4 separate regions of the Homo sapiens genome follow, and regions 2, 3 and 4 are each linked to region 1. Evidence: promoter capture Hi-C in 16 types of primary human blood cells and fetal thymus (Javierre and others, 2016). All regions are on one chromosome and are shown on one strand. Each heading gives the region's core, a stretch centred on a gene start or on the middle of the fragment in contact. The rest is flanking DNA. Distances are from core to core; before and after follow the strand shown. Region 1 holds the start of OR56B4 (olfactory receptor family 56 subfamily B member 4). Region 2 holds the start of OR52E8 (olfactory receptor family 52 subfamily E member 8). Region 3 holds the start of CAVIN3 (caveolae associated protein 3). Region 4 holds the start of OR56A3 (olfactory receptor family 56 subfamily A member 3).

The links. The method cuts DNA at HindIII sites, captures the fragments that hold promoters and counts their contacts. A CHiCAGO score of 5 or more calls a contact.
Region 2: the fragment with the promoter of OR52E8 here is called in contact with the fragment with the promoter of OR56B4 in region 1 in 6 of 17 cell types (fetal thymus, erythroblasts, M2 macrophages and 3 more); the score reaches 7.6 in fetal thymus.
Region 3: the fragment with the promoter of CAVIN3 here is called in contact with the fragment with the promoter of OR56B4 in region 1 in 15 of 17 cell types (M0 macrophages, monocytes, M2 macrophages and 12 more); the score reaches 31.5 in M0 macrophages.
Region 4: the fragment with the promoter of OR56A3 here is called in contact with the fragment with the promoter of OR56B4 in region 1 in 13 of 17 cell types (naive CD8 T cells, fetal thymus, total CD4 T cells and 10 more); the score reaches 11.3 in naive CD8 T cells.

The regions. Positions count from the first base shown.
Region 1 is chr11:6,106,084-6,109,823 of GRCh38, forward strand. OR56B4 (olfactory receptor family 56 subfamily B member 4) reads left to right here and starts at 1,601. Exons shown (of 1, transcript NM_001005181.2): 1 at 1,601-2,752. The coding sequence starts at 1,696. The coding sequence ends at 2,655. All of the region lies in intron 2 of LOC124902622 (a long non-coding RNA gene), which reads right to left. The HindIII fragment of the contact is 4,106 bases long and covers 1-2,126 here.
Region 2 is chr11:5,856,077-5,859,816 of GRCh38, forward strand. It overlaps OR52E8 (olfactory receptor family 52 subfamily E member 8), which reads right to left and starts at 1,614. Exons shown (of 1, transcript NM_001005168.3): 1 at 673-1,614. The coding sequence starts at 1,614. The coding sequence ends at 673. The HindIII fragment of the contact is 1,911 bases long and covers 571-2,481 here.
Region 3 is chr11:6,319,251-6,322,990 of GRCh38, forward strand. It overlaps CAVIN3 (caveolae associated protein 3), which reads right to left and starts at 1,251. Exons shown (of 2, transcript NM_145040.3): 1 at 843-1,251; 2 at 1-314. The coding sequence starts at 1,226. LOC101927825 (a long non-coding RNA gene) reads left to right here. Exons shown (of 7, transcript XR_930998.4): 1 at 1-447. RefSeq lists enhancers at 1-664, 1,208-1,257, 1,468-1,827, 1,838-1,897, 1,928-2,017. The HindIII fragment of the contact is 4,344 bases long and covers 1-1,979 here.
Region 4 is chr11:5,940,520-5,944,259 of GRCh38, forward strand. It overlaps OR56A3 (olfactory receptor family 56 subfamily A member 3), which reads left to right and starts at 1,732. Exons shown (of 3, transcript NM_001003443.3): 1 at 1,732-1,855. The HindIII fragment of the contact is 14,826 bases long and covers 1-3,740 here.

The sequences.
Region 1 (3,740 bases), core at 351-2,850:
GCCGGAAAAAGAAAAAAAGTGGATCTCACAGAAGTAATGAATAGAATGGTGGTTACCAGAGGCCGGAAAGGGTGGGGGTAGGGGAAGAATAGAGGGTGGCTGATGGGGACAAAAATACAGTTAGGTGGAAGAAATAAGTTCTAGTATTCAATAGCACAGTAGGAAAATTATAGTTAATAATTTACTGTATGTTTCAAAATCGCTAAAAGAGAATTGCAATGTTCCTAACACAAAGAAAAGATAAATGCTTGAGGTGATGGATATCCTAATTACACTGATTCGATCATTACACATTGTATACATGTATCAAAATATCACATGTACCTCCAAAATATCTACAAATATGATATATCAATTCTAAAAATACAAAAAAAAATCATTAAACTATAGGGCATCTAGGTGGTAGAAAATAATGCAACTTAACTGCAGTATGGAAATATGGAGCAGTCTTCAAAATATTAAGTTAAAAAAGAAAAGGAAAGAAAAAAGGAGAAAGGTGTGCTAACAATTGATTATGTCTTTTATGAAAATTATATATATATATATATATATATATATATGTTTTTATCCATGCATAAACTATTAATGGAAGGATTCCCAAGAAACATATTACTGGCTGCCTCTAGTGAAAAGGAAAAAGATTTCAAAGCCCCAAGCATGAGAGTCTTACTTTTCATTGTTTATATTTTTCATTTTATTTTGATTTTTACCATGTATAGATAATATATCTTAAAATAAAATCAAAATTATATTTAAAATTTTAAGACTATTATATCCTTTGTATATATAATTTTTGCATCACTTTTGAAACTCTACTCAAGGAAAACAATATTAAAAGCAAAATACCTGTCAGTAAATTATAGAATAGCCAAATGCAAAAATTTAAAGCAGCAATTAAAATTAACATCACACTTTTTAAATAATATTGTGAAGTCTTTGGTTAATGTATTCATCCATGAAATAAAATTTTTGAGTGCTTATATTACATCTTAACACATACTGCTAAAAGACAAAAACAAGATACAAAATCATCTCTAGATAATGATGTAGACTGTTTAAAAATAAAATAGAAAATTGGAAATAAATCAAATACTAACATTTGTTATCTGTTAGTGATAAGACTGTTGTTAATATATGTGGACATGCTTATTAGACATACAAGTGGTGATGAAAAATAGTTATTCCAACTCTTCTGTTTAGAATTTTTTTGCTTTTTTTGTTATTCCTCTGTGGAATATTTCCAGAAGTCAAATAAAGTTGAGGGTCATTCATGAATAAAAGGAGCTGGTTCATTATTGAGGAGCTCTTACCAAGACACTTAACTTTTTGTTTTGTTTTGTTTTTTAAGACAGGGTCTCACTCTGTTGTCCAGGCTGGGGTGCAGTGGCACAATCTCGGCTCACGGCAACCTCCGCCTCCCAGGTTCAATGATTCTCATGCCTCAGCCTCCCAAGTAGCTGGGATTACAGACAGGCACCACCACACCCAGCTAATTTTTGTATTCTCCGCAGAGATGAGATTTTGCCATGTTAGCCAGGTCAGTCTCGAGCTCCTGACCTCAAATTATCTGCCTGTCTCAGCCTCCCAAAGTGCTGGGATTACAGGCATGAACCACGATGCTCAGCCCCTTAGCTGAACTTTTAAACAGAGATTTCTTCTATTTCAGACAGACACTGAGACTGAGGCACCCATTCCATGGATACCTCCACCAGTGTTACCTATGACTCCAGCCTCCAGATTTCCCAGTTCATCCTGATGGGATTACCAGGCATTCATGAGTGGCAGCACTGGCTCTCCCTGCCCCTGACTCTGCTCTACCTCTTAGCTCTTGGTGCCAATCTCCTCATCATAATCACCATTCAACATGAGACCGTGCTACATGAACCCATGTACCATTTGCTGGGCATATTAGCAGTGGTGGACATTGGCCTGGCCACCACCATCATGCCCAAGATCCTGGCCATCTTCTGGTTTGATGCCAAGGCCATTAGCCTCCCCATGTGTTTTGCTCAGATCTATGCCATCCACTGCTTCTTCTGCATAGAGTCAGGCATCTTTCTCTGCATGGCAGTAGACAGATACATAGCCATCTGTCGCCCTCTTCAGTACCCCTCCATAGTCACTAAAGCTTTTGTCTTCAAAGCCACAGGGTTCATCATGCTCAGGAATGGCCTGTTGACCATCCCAGTGCCTATACTGGCTGCCCAGAGACACTACTGTTCCAGGAATGAAATCGAGCACTGCCTCTGCTCTAACTTGGGGGTTATCAGCCTGGCTTGTGATGACATCACTGTGAACAAATTTTACCAACTGATGCTAGCATGGGTCTTGGTTGGGAGTGATATGGCTCTGGTATTTTCTTCCTATGCTGTAATCCTTCACTCTGTGCTGAGGCTGAACTCAGCAGAAGCAATGTCCAAGGCTCTGAGCACTTGTAGCTCCCACCTCATCCTCATCCTCTTCCACACAGGTATCATTGTGCTGTCTGTCACACACCTTGCAGAGAAAAAGATTCCCCTTATTCCTGTGTTCCTTAATGTGCTGCACAATGTCATCCCCCCTGCACTCAACCCCCTGGCCTGTGCACTCAGGATGCACAAACTCAGACTGGGCTTTCAGAGACTGCTTGGACTGGGTCAGGACGTGTCCAAGTAACTCCAGCTTTAGGAATCCAGTAAGATGTTAGGAAATGACAGAGGTTTTAGTTCTCAATAGATCAGGGTTATAATCTGCACTTACCACACTCCCTAGGAAAAAAATGGCCAATAAAATCATGAAAACTGTCAGCCTCACTAATCAAAATATGTATATTAAAATTACAAGAAAATTTCCTATTACCTGGAAAATAAGTAAGAACAAAAAAGTGAAATGTTTCTAACTATTACTGCTAGCCTACCCCGAGATTAACACTTTCCTACACAACTGGTAGGACTATAAACACACCAAAAAGCAATTTGGTAAAATTTATCAAAATGTTTATAAATGTTTAAATGTTCTTAACCAGTAATTCTATTTTAGAAAAATATCCAAAAGAAATAGTCTAAATGCAGTCAAAAAGTTATTCATAAAAATCATTATAATATGACTAATAATAGAAAACAAAGCCTTTAATATTTACACATATTTAACTCTTACATATTTATGTGCTTTTCATATGTAATTTTTATAATAAAAAGTAAACAATAAATGTTTATTAAAAAGGAGTAAAGTTTAATTTTCGTACCCAAAAAAATCTCAATAATTAATGAATTAATGGTTAACAAGTGTTAAATACTTCTTGTAGGCCAGAAACTTTGATAAAATATGTATGTAGATTATCTGACTCAATTCTCACAATAACCCTTTGGGCAGGTACAATATTATTCCCAATTTCCAGCTAAGAAAACTCAGGCACTGGAAATTATAGAACTTGCCCCCTGACAGCACAGTTTCTAAGTGGGAGAGCTGGGATTCAAGTCCTGGGAAGTCTGATTGAAAAACCATAGCACTATTCTTACTCTCAGTCTTGCTCTGTTCCAAAATTTCTGTGTGAACTTGAACAACTTATGAAACCTCCCTATGTTTCAATTCTTCTGATTAAAAGTGACAAAAATCATAACATTTTGCTGAGCCAAATCGCAAACATGCTGTGACAATCAAAAGAGATAAAGAATACATGCTTTGAAATAAGATATACACATGGAAATATAAATCTAACTATGTGGCAGTTTTCTTGCTAGGAAAGGAAGAAAATGGATCCT
Region 2 (3,740 bases), core at 364-2,863, 250 kb before region 1:
AGCAAATGAATGAAATATTTACGAATGTATATGTCATGCTCATGCTGCATTATTTCCTTTTTCCTTTAATATCTAATTTTATGACTATGCTTGCATCTCTAGGTGCATGAGGGAAATTATAGTAACTATTGAATAAGATTATGGTGGGCATGATATGAGTATATTCATGTGTGGTATACCTGTCAATACCCATATATCTACACTGCATCTATGGTATGTTAATATTATTACTAGAGTAAGCTATTATTATTATTTTAAGAATTCTAGAAGCCACTTATTCTGTTTATTATCTTTTTAAAGTAAGAATTTTATTCCGTATTCTGTTATTTCTTAAACATACTAAAGAAAACTATAAGGCAGTCTATTTGGCTTAAATTACTACTTCCTATTAAACATGTAGTTTGAGTAAATCACTCAACTTTTCCGAACATAAGTATATTAATCACAAGAATGGAAAAACTAATACATACTTTATAAAACTGCCTTGAGGATCCAGCAATAGAAATAAAAGAACTTGGAAAAGGAGAGTTCGACAAGGGTAAAATTCTCATTATTATAATTAAAGTCAAAAGCTTCAGTTAACAGATAAATAATGTTATTGGCTGCAGCATTCCCTTCTGTTTTTCTGCTTTCTATTAGGTTAGAGTGACAGACTCTCCAACCTCCAACTGGTTAGTGATTGGTCTTGAGAAAAATCCTCAGCACTCTCTCTCGAATCTGCTTTGTCCTGACTCCATAGATTACAGGATTGAGGGCTGGTGGGACAACCACATACAGGTTGGCTAATATAATATGTATATACTGTGGGATATTATGGCCAAAACGATGTGTCAAGAATGAAAAAAATGCTGGTGTAAAAAAGGCTAAGATAACACCAATATGAGAACCACAGGTGTTGAGAGCTTTGAGTCGAGCTTCCCAGGAGGGCAGGCAGAAGACAGCATACAGGATCCTGACATAGGAGAGAATAATAAGGATAACATCCAGTAACAAGAGAGATATGTTGCCAAGGCCAAACCTAATGTTGACTTTGATGCTGGCACAGGCCAGACGGGCAATGCCCATGTGCTCACAATAAGTATGAGGGATGATACGATGCCCACAGAAGGGCAGCCTCAGAAGGAGAAACACCAGTGGAACAACCATGTACAGGCTCCTCAGGACAGCAATGCCTGCAATGAGGCTGATGATTTTGCTGGTGAGGATCATGGTGTACCGAAGAGGTTTGCAAATGGCAATGTAGCGGTCAAAGGCCATGGCCACCAACACAATGCTCTCCATAGCAGTGAAGAAATGGATGAAGAACATGTGAGAAAGGCAGCCTCCAAAAGATATTTCTTTGGTATTGAACCAGAAGATGCCCAACATTTTGGGGATGGTGGCTGTAGACAAGCCCAGGTCAATGGAATCCAACATGGCCAGGAAGTAGTACATAGGCTCATGGAGACTCTGCTCAGTCTGGATCACAAACAAGAGAGCAGTGTTTCCCAGGAGTGCAACAAGATACACAAAGAAAAAAGGGACTCCAATCCAAATGTGCACATCTTCTAGCCCTGGGATACCCAGCAGTAGGAATGAAGAAGGATGGAACTGGGTGTGATTAGACGTAGACATTCTTCCTGCCATATAAAGCTGCTGGGCACACCAGCGACGATTATAATATTCCTATTAGTAATTCTTGTTCCACTTCTTCTTTTGTTCAGATTTCTAGTCAAATTCACAATAACATATTAATCTTTCTTTATATATATTCATGAGTAAGGTAAAATACTCTCCACAATTTCTCCTAGCCTCTCCTGAGCAACATTGGTACCAGGAATAGAACCAGTCTTATTCTACTGCCCCTTCACCTAATATCAAAGACTAATATAAAAAGAAATGGCAGAAGAATGTCATCTGCCAAATAAAAATGCAAAATCTGGAATTTAGCCAGAACTAAATGAGAAAAATAAAGTTCCAGGGTCAGTGTCTATAGAAATGTTACACATATTTTTGCTTCACGATCAAGGTATTTGTAATCTCAACTATTCCTCTATTTGGGAATCAAAAATGTAGTGTGTAAAACCGTTTCTGTGTTGTTATGCATTTTTACAGGTATTTGTGACTACTAGACTGTATACTTCTATATACAATTTAGACTATACTGTATACAATTTGGGACTACTAGACTGTATACTTCTGTATACAATTTAGGCTGTATATACTGTATACAGTTTGTGACTACTAGACTGTATACTTCTGTATACAATTTAGACTGTGTATACTGTATACAATTTGTGACTACTAGACTGTATACTTCTGAGAGAAGAAACAATTTATCTTGCTCATATGCAGGAAAAAGATCTGCTACATAATAGTTCTCAATTTAAAACCTCCACAAATAGACATTGATTACAAGGAGGCAAAACTGTGGGTAATTTTAATGTCATATTTTAGGAAATAAATAATTTAGTTTCCATCACACCTGTGTTTGAGAAAAGAAGCTTATCCATCGGATTTGGAAAATGGGTAAAAACAAGGAAAAGAAAATACTTGACAAAGAGTATTTTGCAGCTATGATGGAACATGGATGAAGAGATAATTTTAATCTAGATAATCCTATTATTTGGAGAGTGCATAAATACACGCATTCAGTAAAGAAACTGTTTATATATAGGCCAGCTTTTTCTGTGGCAAGGAAACTAAATATTCTGGGCTACAAAATTTTCAAATATATCTCAGTCTTATATTCATGGGAAGAAAGTAGAAGCCCTTTGGATGACCTACAGTTTAGCTGCTACTCAAATTCTATCCCAGCTGTTTTGTCTCTATGGATGTCTCCAATATAGTAAATCCTGAATTTACAGATAGTAAATCCTGAATTTACGGATAGTAAATCCTGAATTTACAGATAGTAAATTCAAAATTTGAAGCAAAAAGTTCATTACTGCGCAACTTACTTTTACTTGGGAAAAACTAGTTTTACAGATAATGCGGAATTGGTTAAATGTGACGTGGCAACTACACAAAAAGCATTGATTACAATTTAAGAATACTTGAACATTGGGGGAAGTCAGAATTGAGACGTACGCAGCAGAGATAAAAGTGTGTGAATGTCAGCAAGTTCTACTTTAATCCTGTAACAACAAAAATGCATTGCTGGTAGTACCTATTTGAAGCATACGAAGAATAGCAAAAATGAGAGATTATTTGATAATTTGGGAAATTATTTCAGAGAGAGAGAGAGAGAGAGAATGTGTGTGTATAAACTTGGGTGAAACTATCAGAGATAAGGGTATAAACTTCCTGTTTTTCACTAATTGAGAATACACAAAATAGGCAGCGAAATACCTTTCACAATTTATCCCATCAAATATTGAAGAGGTTCTCTATGTATCAGTGGTAATTAGGAAGTTTAAATACAAAAAATGAATAAAACTGGTCATATATCCTTAAGGAAATCACCACGTAGTAAAGAAGATAAAATTCCAAACATGAAATTTAAGAACTGTACTGCAAGTGCTATGGTAGAAATGTGCACAGGATGTTTTAAATGTAGAGGTGAGTCAAGAAAAATTGTATAGAGGAAGTTAGGCTTATGCTGACTTACAGAGAAATTCTTCTGACAAAAAAGAAAGAAAATTTTATTCTGTATAAATAAGCAGGGGCAAAGTGGGAAAAAAAGCACAGTGGCCACTTAGGATATAAAAATGAAATCAGTCATCCTCTTCAATGGTCTTATCCAGAGATTCTTATTAAGT
Region 3 (3,740 bases), core at 1-2,500, 210 kb after region 1:
TCCAGCGTGGGCTCCAGCGCAGGCTGGGCTTCCGGCTGGGCTTCAGCGCTCCGGCCAGGCCCAAGGCGAGGCGGCTTGACCGGGGTGGGCGGTGGCGCTGCAGGGCCTTTCCGGCCCGAAAGGGCCCTTCGGAGGCTCTGTACCTTCTGCAATCCGGTGCGCCGCAGCCGCTGGGCCCTGGACTCCACCGGCTCCTCGTCCGAGCTCTCTCCAACTTCGGCCTCCAGCTGCTCTGGGCCCAGCTCGGACTGGTCCGCCGGGCCCAAGGGCTCTGGTGCCTTCTGGAAAGCGCTGGCTGGGACTTCACCCTCCTCCTGCATGTGACGGACACAGCACTGATCCTGGCAGCTCCTTACCCCCAGCAGCCCGAAACTCACTCCTTAATTACACAAGGGAAACCTTTTACCTCCGCAGCCAGAGTCTGGGGGGAAAGGCAGGCGTGGGAAGGTAAGGGGAGGGAAAGCTGCGTGCGAACTGCAAAACGCTGTAAAGTAGGTGAGGCCTGGTGAGGGGCGAGAAGAGGATAGTGCCCGCAGTCACGGAATGCCCTTTCAACCACCGTTATTTTAGGGATTGGCTGGGACTCAGACCAAATTCTGCGGACGTGGCCTGAGCTAGAGCTGGGCGGGCTTGGATTGGCCAGGCGGGGCTCAGGCGTGAGAGGGAGGGATGGGGCTGGGTCTTGGGAAGTGGGTGCGGCTCTGTGAGTCTGTTCCACAGCAACAGACGGCGGGAGGGGTCAGGAATGTGGGTGTGGTAGGTGGATGGAAGCGGGGAGCCCCCAGCTGGTGGCCCACAGGCCGGCAAAGGCCTCGGATTGGGGACCGTTTGAGGTCACTGACCTTGAAGAGCAGAACGTGGAGCTTCCCGCGCGCCACCAGCAGCCCGTGGTTGGCCTCCAGCCGCTGCACCTGGGCTGCGCGGCGCACCGCGCGCTCTTGGGCGGCGTTGGCGTGCGAGCTCACGCGCTCCGCCTTGGCCAGCAGCTGCGCCAAGGTGTTGCTGGTGGTGTCGTGGCTGCGACTCAGAGCGCCCAGGCCGCTCTGGATGCGGCGCACGGACCCTGCCAGGCCTCCCTGCCTTCGAGCCAGGCCTCCCTGCCGCTCCCGCAGAGTCTCCAGCATGGAGGCCAGCTTCTCCAGCAGGGTCACCACCGTCACGGCGTGCACGGGACCCCCCGCCGGCGCCTCGGGCACAGGCCCCCGCTCCAACGCACTCTCCCTCATGATCCCTGACCGCTCTGCTCCGTCTGCCTGCAACTGCTGGCCGCACTACGGTCAGGGGCCTCCTTTCCCTGGCTCCTCCCCAGCTCCAGCTGTGACTCAGGCAGGCGGAGTTGGCCTTCTGGGGCGGCGGGAGGGCGCGAGGGCGTGGGGATGTTGGCAGCGGGGTCTCTTGAAAGCGTTTCGCCTTCCGCTGTCCCGCGCCGGGGGCCTGCTGGGAAGCCTGTTGGCCCCAAATCGGCCCCCTGCAAACCCTCTCACTCTGAGTTTGAGTTACCCTCCTCCGCTCCAATTCCCTGGTGTGCCTGTTTCAGTTCTCCACTGCAAAGGGCGAGTCACGGAAATTTTTATTTCATGCATCTTAGTGGGCGCAGAGACTGTGTTGGCACGGCAAAGAGATAACCAGAGGGGCCTCCGTCGCCGTCCACTTTCGGCCTCCCACACCAGTGAAGATTGCCCCCAGGCTGGATGCAGGCGACAGGGAGGCCCTGGAACATTCTGCTTACAGATCGCGAACTGTCAAGGCCCGAGGCCCCGCTTTGTGACTTGGACAGGCTGCTCATTGTGGGCTGGCGGGCGGGGCATCCTCTGGTGTTTTCCTAATAGTCATCTCCAGGGTTTAGCCTCAGGCTTCGTTTCCTGCTTCTTTATTTCGTCCTCTTGGGTAGCATTATCTGGTTTCTTTTCTCTAGTTTTCTGCCCTCTCTTTCTTTGGGTTTCACTGGTAAATCTCAGCCGCCCCGGCCCCAGCACCCAAGCTTGGAGGATAAGCAGGACACCTTCACCTCTTTTAAAATCCTTAAAAGCGTTAGACTAGGCACTGGTCTTTGCTTTGATAGAGGTTACTTGGGCTCCTGCCTGACTTTTTTTGCTTGTTTGTTTGTTTCTTGTGTTCTGTGGAACTGCGGAGAGTAAAGATTTGAAATTGCTGCTGCAGAGAGGGAGAGAGTGGGCATGGAGGATCCAGTTAATGATGTGGATTGTGAATTTCTAATGTCAGCAGTTCGAAACATCCCATGCCTTAGCCGGGCGCGGTGGCTCATGCTTGTAATCCCACCACTTTGGGAGGCCGAGGGGGGAGGATCACGTGAGGCAGGGAGTTCCAGACCAGCCTGGGCAACATGGCAAAACCCCGTCTCTACTAAAAATACAAAAATTAGCAGGGCGTTGTGACACACGCCTGTAATCCCAGCTACTCGGGAGGGCTGAGGCAGAAGAATCGTTTGAACCTGGGAGGCAGAGAATGCAGTAAACCAAGATTGCTCCACTGCACTACAGCCTGGAGGACAGAGCAAGACTCCATCTCAAAAAAAAAAGAAAAGAAAAAAGAAAATCCCGTGCCTTGTTTGTAGCAATACTTGGCAAACCGTCTCACAAATGCAAGTAATCCATTAATCCTGATGATCTCTCTCCCTCTTCCTCTTCTCACTGAACCTGTGAGGGCCACTTGTTGACAACTGTGGAAGAAACTTGTGTCACTCTGGAAATAGTTACATGGGCCTGAAGTGCCACAGACGTGGGCAGCTAATGCCAGAAATCTGGTGATGCTAAGCTGATGGCTGATTTCTACAAATACAAGGCCATAAGCCTGACCCCTGCTGCTTAATACAAGAGAAAATAAGCTCTCTTGGGAATCTGGTGGGAATCACCATCTCTTCCAGTGAAACTACATTTACCCAGAGAGATCCATCAGGGATGTACCAGTTAAAATGCTTTCAGACTGAGGGAACAAAAACTCAATTCAAACAGTACTTAGTAACAGGAAACTCAATTCAAACATAATTGAAAAAGAGGATTGGTAGAGTGGTGATTAAGTGTGAGTCATTCACAGCTCCAAATCTGGTTTTCTACAGTTCTCTCCACTGCTCAACTATGAGCCCCATCCCGCACCTCTCACACTCCCCCATGTCCCCCACACACCCCCTACCCATGTGTATGTGCCCACATACGCACAGGTGTCAGCTTCATTCCAGGCCTCACAACTCTGCACAAGATCTTAAAAAAAAAAGGGGACCATCTTAAAATTTAGGACATTTATTTCCCAGAAGCCTCCCAGAATTTTTACACTTGCCTTCCACTGGGTTACATGGCTTTTCCAAATCCAAATTCTATGGCTACAAAAATGACATGCATTGATGGGTTTAGGCCTATGTTCCCTAAACAATCACTGACAAGAAATCTAATAATTGGCTTTTGACAAGTTAGATCAATTCTGAAGTAGAGTAGATTCAGCTTCCCCAGGAGTATTAGGGTGGTATGGGAGGAAAAGTGGATATCTGTACAAAAATCTGGGTACTACTGGGAATGGATATTAATATTACAGGAAGCCTATGAAAGAATCACCAGCTTTGATGAGTGGGGCTAAGGAAATTCAGTGCATTTGGAAGTAAGAAGTACTTGCATAGATACTTGGATAGATTTGGATAGATTTTTTTTTTTTTTCCTGAGACCAAGTCTCGCTCTGTCACCCAGGCTGGAGTGCAAACGCGCGATCTTGGCTCACTGCAACCTCCGCCT
Region 4 (3,740 bases), core at 482-2,981, 170 kb before region 1:
AGGGGATCATACAAAGTATTGATTCCTCACTAGCATGCTACATTGGGGGCGGGCATCTTTTGAGATCAGCTACAACAAATACTGATGAGGTGAATTAAATTACTCTAAAAATTCTCATATTATTCAGCTTCTAGCCAAGATATGATGAAAGGGACTGAATTTGCTTTCCTAACTGACCTAAAACAAAACAAACCAAAAGTGGAATAAAATATAGTAAACAATGAGTTTCAAGACAGTAGACATCAGGCAAGTAAGGACAGTTATCCCTGAAATATGTGAAACAAATGAGGCAGGCCCTACAACTACCCCAGTTTTCTGTCTTCAAAGAGTTTCCAGGCTGCAGTGCAGGGAAGCAAGACCAAATGGAACTCAGTGGAGTCCCTAAGTGGAGGAGATGTAATTGGAGTACAGAAAGACCAAACCCGCTAAAGCTCGCAAGAAAGAATACTGGAGAAAAGAAAGCTGCACACAGAGAGAAGCCTGAAAACCTACAGAGGATCTTCCTCAAGTAATGAATGAATGTGTGCAGATGAGGACACTAACCAAGGTGGAGGAAGGGAGGAGGGCACCTAAAAGAATTAGTGAGAACAGTATCCAATCAACACACAGGGCCTGAAATAGTATCTGTTTCCACCGTCGAGAAAGGAAAGCATTATAATTCATAAGGCATTGGGGAAAATTCTCAAATGGTCTTTCTTAGTAGTGAACAGCAGTAAAAAATAATAAAGTCAACTTACACATAGCAACATGTATAAATTTGAAGATATAGCATTGATAGAAAAAGAATAACAGATTTACAACCCAGTGACAGTTATATAAATTCAATTTTAAAAGAATTTTTTCATAAATTAAGTATATCCCTGTATAAGCATACTGAAAATTAATTAGAAAGATATATTTTAAATCCACTGGAGTTTTCACTTTCCTAAAGGGAAGGGAAATAGGAGGAATGTTGGAAAATACAGGAAAAGAAATAAAGCAAAAGTCTTGAAGAAACTTATGATGCTTGTTTCCATTAGTTGATAAGTGTGAATAATTCATATAAGGTTCAAAATGAAAATAAAACCTAAAGGAAAAACATAGTTGCTAACTAATATTGGGTTATTTATAAATTCCATTTTTAAACCTCTCACCACAAAAAAAATTATTATAGGTCTTTTTTCTCTGAATATCACATTGCATTTTCTCAGTAAGATTTTGTTCAGTTTTCTCTTGCATTTTTATCATAATACCTTCATAAAAGTCATGATAGATTAACACCAATCCATTCAATAGCATGGTTTGGGCAGTGCCTATCAAACAAAACAAGCAGGAAGCCCACAAAAATTTCCATTCACTTATTGGATCCACAGAAGCTGCTCAGTGTGCATAGGCAGATGAATATGAACACAGATGGATGTGAACATAAGATCCCTGTACCCAGGAGACGTACTTACTGCCTACAGGACAAGCAGTCAGTGTAGCACTGGATTACCGGGGGTTTTTTGTCACAGAAAGAAAGAGAATAATTTTCTTCTCCCATCTAACTGCCTGTTTTTCCCAGGAGGACCTTTTGGTCCTACGGGAAGAGGGATTAAGAAGTTCCCAGAGGTCAGAGTTTCTGAGGCACTACAATTATAACTGCCCCAGATACTTCTGAAACTAACAAGAGCTCCAATATTAATGGAGCCAAACCCCATGCTTCACATTTTCTGTGAGTCTGGCTAGAGGATGTTAATGGTGGCTATACAAAGATTAGCCAGAAGACTAGAGAGATCTCTGTCTTCAGTCCCTATCTGTGCTCTTTTCCATTCCTGCGTCAATACTGCTGAAGTAGTCTGAGAAGGAAATAAATAAAGACTGCACCCTGTCTCAGGTAAAGAGGCTTATGTGCTCTGGGACCTTCTCTCTTTTGCCATCCTCTGGGTGCTTGGTGGTAGCAGAAATGCAGGAAAGTTGCAATTTGTCTATAGAAGATTAACAGGCAGTATGAGAGCTAAAAAGTGCATAATTTGGAGCCAAGTAAAGAAAATTTGGAGTTTTCAACTCTGAATATGGAAATTTAGTGGCTTGAAAACAAAGAATATGCCTACCAGTGTCTGAATTATAAAGTTAGAATTACATTAGTTTCTATAACTTCAGAGGTTGAAGACAAAGACCACAGTTCAGGACCAGTGGAAGTCAGGAAGTAGTTCAAAATATTTCTGATCAAAATTGCTAAAATCTACTTCTGACAAGAACAGAAAACTACGCCCAGAAGAGCAGCTAGCTACCTGTCACTGGATGCACTGAATAATATCTGAAACTACACCTGAGAGAGGTATCTTACAGGCCTGCCTGAATTTTACCAAGATAGAACCCTAGCAACTCTTTTACTTTTTAAAACAGGGTTTCTTTGGCACTATTCTGTGGGCCTATCTTGCAACCTGGGAAAGCCTAGGCTGATGGTCTCTCCTTTAGTCTTTGAGCTTCAACTTCTTTGGCTTTCTCATCTTGTTCCTGGCTGGAACTGGAAACCATTAGCTCCAGTTCCTAAGCCCTAGTGTGCCATTGGCAAGTTTTGATTACAAACCAAGATTGAATAATGAAAGGAGAAAAGGAGCAAATGTGTTTCCAGATGCTTTACTTCTAGGGATGAGTACTTTATTGATGCTTGTTGAATGATTGAAAAACATGCAGAAACATTAGAGAAAATAGAAGGAAAAAGGAAAAGTCAGTGAGTTAGAAAAATAAAATAATCCTCCCATGTAATCCTCAGAAATTTCATCTTAGTGCTAAAAATAATTATCCCAAAGCTCTTCAAGAGACAGAAAATATACTTTTTCCTCTAGGCTTCTCTATGGATACTCATGCCTAAGTCACTAGATCTTCCATTTGGCTCTACCCTGCAAAGGTCATTTCAAGATTTTCTCTACTTCCAAGCACAAAACATTTAATTCCTTCTAGGAGTCCTTTGTGACCCCTGGAGAAGAAAAGCTACTTGGAAAGGTAAGATTTGGGGCTGTGATTTTCTTTAAAAAAAAAAAAAAAAAAACCACCTTATTTGCTTCAGGTTTTTTAAAATAAAATAAAACATTTCTGAAGTTTAAGTCCCCTTCATACACTGCAAAAGGCTCCTAGAACAGATAAAGGACTCCAGGATACAAAATCAATGTACAAAACTTAGTAGCATTTCTGTACGCCAATAAAGTTCAAGCTAAGAGCTGAATCAAGAATGCAATCCTAGTTACAAGTGCCACAAAAAGAATAAAATACCTGAGAATACAACTAACCAAGAGGCTGTGATTTTTAACTGTAAAAATTTTGCAGAAAGTAGGATCAGAGGATGCAATGAGCAAAGGAATAAATGACAAGAAAGTAATGCAGAAGATAGTGTTTAAAGGGAATATGTGGAATTTAACAGCCTATAGTTGTACTTGCTGTGGGTGCAAAGTTAATTGGGGTTGGGTCAATTATGCCAAGTTCTAGGCTTAGAAGGTCTTACTGGTTTTTGTTCCACACTTACAAGTTAATGTATTCAAAGACAGAGAAGGAAAAGAAGTGAATGAACATAGTGCCCAGGGCATGAAGAAGGGTCGTTAGTCACCAACTGGAGGCTGGAAGTTTTGTTCTAGGGGTTATTATCTTGAGGACCTCCTGTAACTCCAGTATGTCTTACTCTCAGTGAGCCACTCTATCAAGGAAAATGGCAAAAATATTAGAAAAGAGAAAGTAAGATTGGAGGGTGGCAGGTATGAAGTGCATAGAGAATGATTTTATAA